Regions from separate parts of the Homo sapiens genome. Here region 2 is linked to region 1. Evidence: promoter capture Hi-C in human tissues and cell types (Jung and others, 2019). All regions are on one chromosome and are shown on one strand. Each heading gives the region's core, a stretch centred on a gene start or on the middle of the fragment in contact. The rest is flanking DNA. Distances are from core to core; before and after follow the strand shown. Region 1 holds the start of IL9 (interleukin 9). Region 2 overlaps SPOCK1 (SPARC (osteonectin), cwcv and kazal like domains proteoglycan 1).

The links. The method cuts DNA at HindIII sites, captures the fragments that hold promoters and counts their contacts. A contact is called where the count stands out against the background at its distance.
Region 2: a contact is called between a fragment that was not itself captured here and the fragment with the promoter of IL9 in region 1, in 1 of the 25 tissues and cell types used here (mesenchymal stem cells).

The regions. Positions count from the first base shown.
Region 1 is chr5:135,894,415-135,897,728 of GRCh38, forward strand. It overlaps IL9 (interleukin 9), which reads right to left and starts at 1,427. Exons shown (of 5, transcript NM_000590.2): 1 at 1,289-1,427; 2 at 1,141-1,176; 3 at 1,026-1,058. The coding sequence starts at 1,402. LOC124901074 (a long non-coding RNA gene) reads left to right here. Exons shown (of 3, transcript XR_007058947.1): 3 at 1,284-1,734. The HindIII fragment of the contact is 9,945 bases long and covers 1-3,314 here.
Region 2 is chr5:137,225,450-137,228,680 of GRCh38, forward strand. The region is part of intron 3 of SPOCK1 (SPARC (osteonectin), cwcv and kazal like domains proteoglycan 1); the gene reads right to left. Among named protein-coding and RNA genes, the nearest start is that of SPOCK1, 270 kb to the right of the region's middle. The HindIII fragment of the contact is 3,405 bases long and covers 106-3,231 here.

The sequences.
Region 1 (3,314 bases), core at 177-2,676:
GGCTCTGAATGTTCTTTTCAACGGGTGCTTCCCGGCTTCAAGGCTTGTAAGTCTGAAAGTGCAGAGTGAGGAAAAGCCTTTTCACACCAGCTAATGGGATGTGACAATTGAATGCAGCTGGTATTTCAGCAGCAGCTAAAAACATGGACGGTACTCCAAGGGACAGGGGCTGTGCTGTCTGCCTGGTTCCTGCCCAGAAGGCACTCTATCCTCTTCTCATCTAATGGATGGACCGCGATGGGTGCGATGTCTTACCCTAGCCAGGGCAAGAAGCTCAGATTCTTCAGATTCTCCCAGGCCTTGCATGAGAAAGAATAAAGCACTGCACCTTGGAGAAGTGCCTCCTCCTCACCCTAACCAGGAGTTTGAATTAGGAATCAGAACTTTCCTGCCACCCATCCTTCCTGCCGTAGTGGGCAGTGGCCCTCTGGAAGCCCTCCTTCCACTCACAACCTCAGATCCTCTACCTGCCCAGAGGGCAGCATTCAAACCAACAGTCACTCTAATCAGCTAGACAGACAACAGGGTGGTGGGGAGGAAGGGAGGAGGCAGGGAGGGGGAGGTATAGCGCATAGATCATTCATGACAGATGAAAGATAAGGAGTTGTCATTTTATTTACATTGTTTCACAACTCTAGAGTTATCAGTAAATGAGTTAGAAAGCAATATGATATGAGCTACAGCAATTATTATATCCTTAGTTCCAGTTTTATTTAATTGTGCACATGGCCACCTATCTAAAAAGATATTCAGGATTCTTTTTTTAATGTTGAAAAGTGTTCAAACTTCTCAAGAGGCATAAAGTTAATTAAATACAAAGAAATGTTCATAATATAGGATTTCAAGATCGTAGTTTTAAAAGGGAATAATTTGTAACAATGTGGTTTTAACAGGGAATACTAATCTGTAACAATTAAATTAAGCAACAATGTATAACATTAAATATTAAATAAAGCAACTTATTTTTACTTAAAAACAAACCAAAAAAATCCAAGGTCAACATTATGTTATTTCACTATACTTACAGAGGGAATGCCCAAACAGAGACAACTGGTCACCTGCAAGGGAAATTTCAGAGTGAAGATTCCAGATGTGAAAATTAAAATTAATTTGGAAAGTTCTTAAAGAGCATTCACTCACATTAGCACTGCAGTGGCACTTGGAAGCTGGATCTTCCTAAAGTAGATAGAGAGATAAGAACCTTTAGTCAGCCCCGAGTTTTTTCATCCTCATACATATTTCACTTTGTCAGTAGCTGTCTTTCCCATGGGCTCCCCCTGCAGCCTACCTGCATCTTGTTGATGAGGAAGTTGATGTCCAGGATCCCCGCCAAGGTTGGACACCCCTGGCCTGCCACGGAGCACAGGAGCAGGGCAGAGGTAAGGACCATGGCCAGAAGCATCTTGACAGCGGACTGGAGCTCGCTTGCAGACACCTTCAAATCGAGTGGTATTTAAAGCTCCCTCTCAAACACGGAAAAACCCTGACATCAAACTGATACCAAGAGCCCACTTTTTCTCTGTAAGTTGGGGCCACTTTATACTAACAAACAAAAAAATCAAACTGAGTCACTTGACAGAGATGATGCTGTGCCAGGAAATATCATTCCTCAGAAAAGATGATTTTCAAAAAGTTGAGTACTGAAATGCTGAAGGAAAAGTTAAAGATCTAAAAACCAAGAAAAAAAATTCAAAGACAGGGATTCTGGTTGTGAGAGTTAGAATACTTTCCATGAACGCCCAGGTCTGTATTTTCCCTTTTTACATTATGGGAAATGCTGATATAATATAGCCAGTCATGGGTGTTCTAACGAAGGGGGGCCTGGGGAGACAGAGCGGGTTGGGGGAGGGTGCATGATATTGCAGAACTTCACTTATCTCTGTTGGGGTTTTCCTTTAGTAATTGCAACCTCAGTCTTACTATGCTTTATTCCCAAATCTCAATGTTTTTCATACCCAGGATGAAGTTTGCCACCTAATGCAAATGCATCTTAGAAGTATCCCTTTGTGCAAGTGTCTGAAAGAAGAAATGTTCAACTATAAGCACAAGAATGCGGCAACCATGCTTGTTAAAATTGGCCTTGAGGACTCCTCAGTATCTTTGGAGATCTTATATAACACTGTATGACATCAAGTAAAAACCCAGCACTTGAAAGAGTATAGTAGCTAACATTTACTGAGAACTTACTACATACTAGTAACATTTCTTTTTTTTTTTTTTTTTTTTTTGAGACAGAGTCTCCCTCTGTCACCAGGCTGGAGTGCGGTGGCACAATCCAGGTTCGCTGCAACCTCTGCCTCCCGGGTTCAAGCGATTCTCCTGCCTCAGCCTCCCGAGTAGCTAGAATTACAGGCACCCTCCACCACGCCCGGCTAATTTTTTGTATTTTTAGTAGAGACGAGGTTTCACTATGTTGGCCAGGCTGGTCTTGAACTCCTGACCTCGTGATCCGCCCGCCTTGGCCTCCCAAAGTTCTGGGATTACAGGCATGAGCCACTGGGCCTGACCATACTAGCAACATTTCTAAGTACTTTACATGCATTAAGCCATGTAATACACTCGGCTGCCAAATGAGGTGGGGAGTAATTTGTCATCACCATTTTTTACCCTTTAAAACACTGTCTACATCTTAGCTTCCTGGCCCTTCAGTATGGCTGTGTTTAATCACTATGAGTCAAAAAAGCAATCTCAGTGTAACTCTATGAAGTACTATAATTATTCTTATTATCTTACAGATGGAGAAACTGAGGCATAGAGAGGCAGGTAATTTGCCCAAAACCACAAAGCCAGGAAGCCGCAGAATTTGTATTCAAGCCCAGAAGTCTGCCTCCTGATTTCAGCTCTTAATCCTCCTGAACTCCTGTTTTTCTGCAGATCTTTTATCTGCCTCTCCCACCAGGATATATACTCCAGGGCTTTATGGGTCCAGTTCACCCCTATATTCTCAGCACTTAAGGAGGTGCCTGGGGAACTGTGGGCACTCACTAAATGCTTGTTGAATTAAAACACTAATTTGAAAAGTAGTTCTTGAAATACGAACTTCCTACTTCTGGGATTTATAAGATTTCAAATCTGATTTCTAGGATACATATTTGGAGGTATGTGCAGGTAAGTAAATATAGCTTCTACACAGTAGATTGAAAAGGTGAGGGGTTCTTTAGCTTAGCACTCTGAACTATAATAGCCAGTGGGGACAAACTCATAAGATTTCCTCGCCTCCACTGTAAGAGTATGGCAATACTGTTTTTTTTCATTTTGTATTGTTTCTTAGGAGTGATGATGGCTCGTCAGTGTTCCACTGCACTATGGGGAAG
Region 2 (3,231 bases), core at 558-3,057, 1.3 Mb after region 1:
GTATTAAAGAACTTTCAAGTTTCACTCAGCCCCTACTCAGGTGTTACCTACAACTATTTCCCTGCACAGAACCTTCCCTAAATGGATCAAACATGTTCACCCATACTCAAACACAAACTTAGACCTTCCGCACTCTCAAATGCTAGGGCATGCCACACGATGCCTCGACATACACACTTGATGTAGCAGTGGTTCTCCACTTGAGCATCCTTTAGAATCACCTGGAAGGCTTGGGAAAACACAGGTTTCTGGCTCTATCATCAGAAGTACTGATTCAGCATGTCTAAGGTGGAGCTGCAAAATTTGCATGTCTAATACTGCTGGTACAGGGATCACATTTTGAGGACAACTGTGCCAAAGAAAGGAGAAAGACAAGCCAACTTCAAGAACTGAGAAAGGAATATGTGGAAACAAAAGCCTTTTGTGAGAAGCTCAGAACCAAAAGAAGTCTAGCCCTCAAGGACACTAGGTCTCCCCCCAGAGAGCACCAGAAATGGTGCGGGCAGCCTTCTTCCCACTTGGAGCACGCCTCACCAGGCTCCTGGATCTTGGACTGTTGGGCTGACCCAAGGCCACAGCTCAACAGGGACATCCAGACCCAACCTAAATCCTGAAAAGAGATGGGGTTTTTGACACAAGACTATCAGTGGGCTGCACACCATCCTGCTCAATTATCATCTCTTCCTCCTCTGTGTTAAAGCAATTCTGCAGCACAGTGATTCTTCACAGGGAGATTGATGGGCATCTTTCATGCTAATTCATTCCTGGAGTTGGGAAGCCTTTATTTTCCTCATGACATGAAGAAAACGATGGCAGACATTTCCAGTAGAAATGCCACTGCATTCTTTATAATGTCATTCAGCTGCTGCCAGAATTAAACTATTGACCAAACTAATCTGTTTAACACCCACGTTGTGGCTTGATCTCCTTGCCCCGAGGGGTGAAGCATCATGCTGCAAAGGCATCCACATTTATTCTCAGTAAGTGATGCTGGATTGCAAAGTGCCATGCATACAGGCTGGGTTTTTAATGCCATGGAAGCCCCACAGAGGCCACCTCATCCTCCACTGTGCTTTACCCACTTCAAACCATCCCCTACCTCCTTGAGGGTTAGATCCAAACCCCTCAATATGGCTGATGAGGCCCATATGACCAGACTTTCATTTTCACAGCTTCCAGTCTCCTCTGGTCTCACTCTCTACACCCTAGGGAACCCCTACCCGTAGGCTCAGGACTTGCCCATCTCTGGGCCTTTGCATAGGTTGTTCCCTCTGCGTGGAAGATGGCCCTCCCCTGCTTTCTCTAGATGTTTAATTTCTACTTGTCCTTTATCCAGTTTAAGTATAACTACCGTGTGCCCTGTAGTATCTTATACCTCACATGTTATAGTAATCATGTTGCTGATAATTATTTGTATTCAGATTATAAGCTTTGTGAGGCCAAGATCCATATCTAATAAAGTACCTAATAAAAAATGTGATGTAACAGGTGCTCAAGAAATATTTATAAATGAATGCATGGATAGCTAGCTCTGACAACTCCCTCTTTCAAAGCCTTCCTCTGTTATCCATCTGCAAAATGAGGAATTTTGACTGAGGATTTCTAACAAGGGATTTGTGACAAGGGGACAAAACAGGGGTTCCAGAGAAGCTGCAAGAAATGAAGTTCAAAGCATGCAGGGAATCAGAAGACCCTACTCCAGGACCTTTCTGTCTTTTGTGAACTACAGTACTTTTCCCTTAGCTTCAAGGCAGTGGAGAAGGATGCTTAATGGCAATACTCCTCAAAGCATGGACCCTGAAATCCTGGGGTTCCAAGAAAGTGCCTCAACATCTATTGTAGAAAGCAAGGAGTAGGCCAGTCTTAGAAACTGTACCTTAATCCATTTGAGGTACTACGTTCTAGGTGAGAGTTCATTTGCAAGAAAAGTAGACTTTGCTGCTTACAAAAAAGAAATTTGAAAGCAAGAGCAGAATTGGTCACTGACTTAGGATTTAAAGTACATCATCATCAGAGGGTCATGAAATCCTGACAATCCTCTGGCTCTGGTATGCTCGAAACAGATAAGAGTCTTTGAGCATTTGGCATCTCTTGCCCAACTCACTACCAGGCATTGAGAATTGCAAAGGAGCCTAAAAGCCTTCTACTCTGGTGAAAAGAACAAAGCTTCCTACACAGCAAGGTCTATAGAGTAAGGAAACAGGGAATAACCCAAACTCAATAACTCTCTTAGAAGAAAGGTCACAGCTTCAGATCAGACCCTGGGGCTTTGCAAACAAAGATGAGGGCAAGTTATCGTAGGAGCAAAGGGAACAGCCAACAGTGCCAATAACTCCAGATACAGACCACCAATGCAGATTTGTGCCATAAGCTTGTACCTCTTAGACCCTTCCCTCCTCTGAATCTTTCTTGTCCTATTTCTTGGGGCCTCATGTGAGGCAGATACATCTATGAAGAGGAACCACAAAACTCTGTGATCTGGACATTTCCTCATCCATATCCAATGCAGAAAAAGTATAAATACCCTTTCTTTAATAAAGCTAATCAGCCCAAATATGCAACAATGAGTAAACCAAACCTGTTTTCTTTTCTTTGCATTTTCTCCTCTTCATTTATCTGCAAACAGGAATACAGGGCTTTCTGACCAATGCCAGTTGATCTGAGCATCCCTGAATGACTTAAGCCCCAGGACTCATACATGATACATGGCTGGTACAACTGCAGAGATGGCTTCAGCCAACATGAATGACCAAGGAGGCTGTCATTGTACACAGTTTGTAAAGATGGCTCCCAGGCCACAGGGCAAGCCTTAACCATCCAAGTGAGACTTCAGACTGAACACAGAAGTGAATCACAAAACGACTTCTTTCCAGGACCCACCCAATATGAGACTTAAAAAACTAATCATCAGCCAGATGCAGCAGCTCATGCCTGTAATGCTAGCACTTTGGGAGGCTGAGGTGGGTGGATCACTTGAGGCCAGGAATTCGAGACCAGCCTGGCCAACATGGTGAAACTCCATCTCTACTAAAAATACAAAAAATTTAGCTGGGTGTGGTGGTGTGCACCTGTAGTCCCAGTTACTTGCGAGGCTGAGGCATGAGAATCACTTGAACCCAGAAGGCCAAGGTTGCAGTGAGCAGAGATTGGGCCACTGCACACTAGCCTGGGTGACAGAGAATCTGTCTCAAAACAAAAATAAAAACAAAAGAAAACAAAAAAAACCTAATC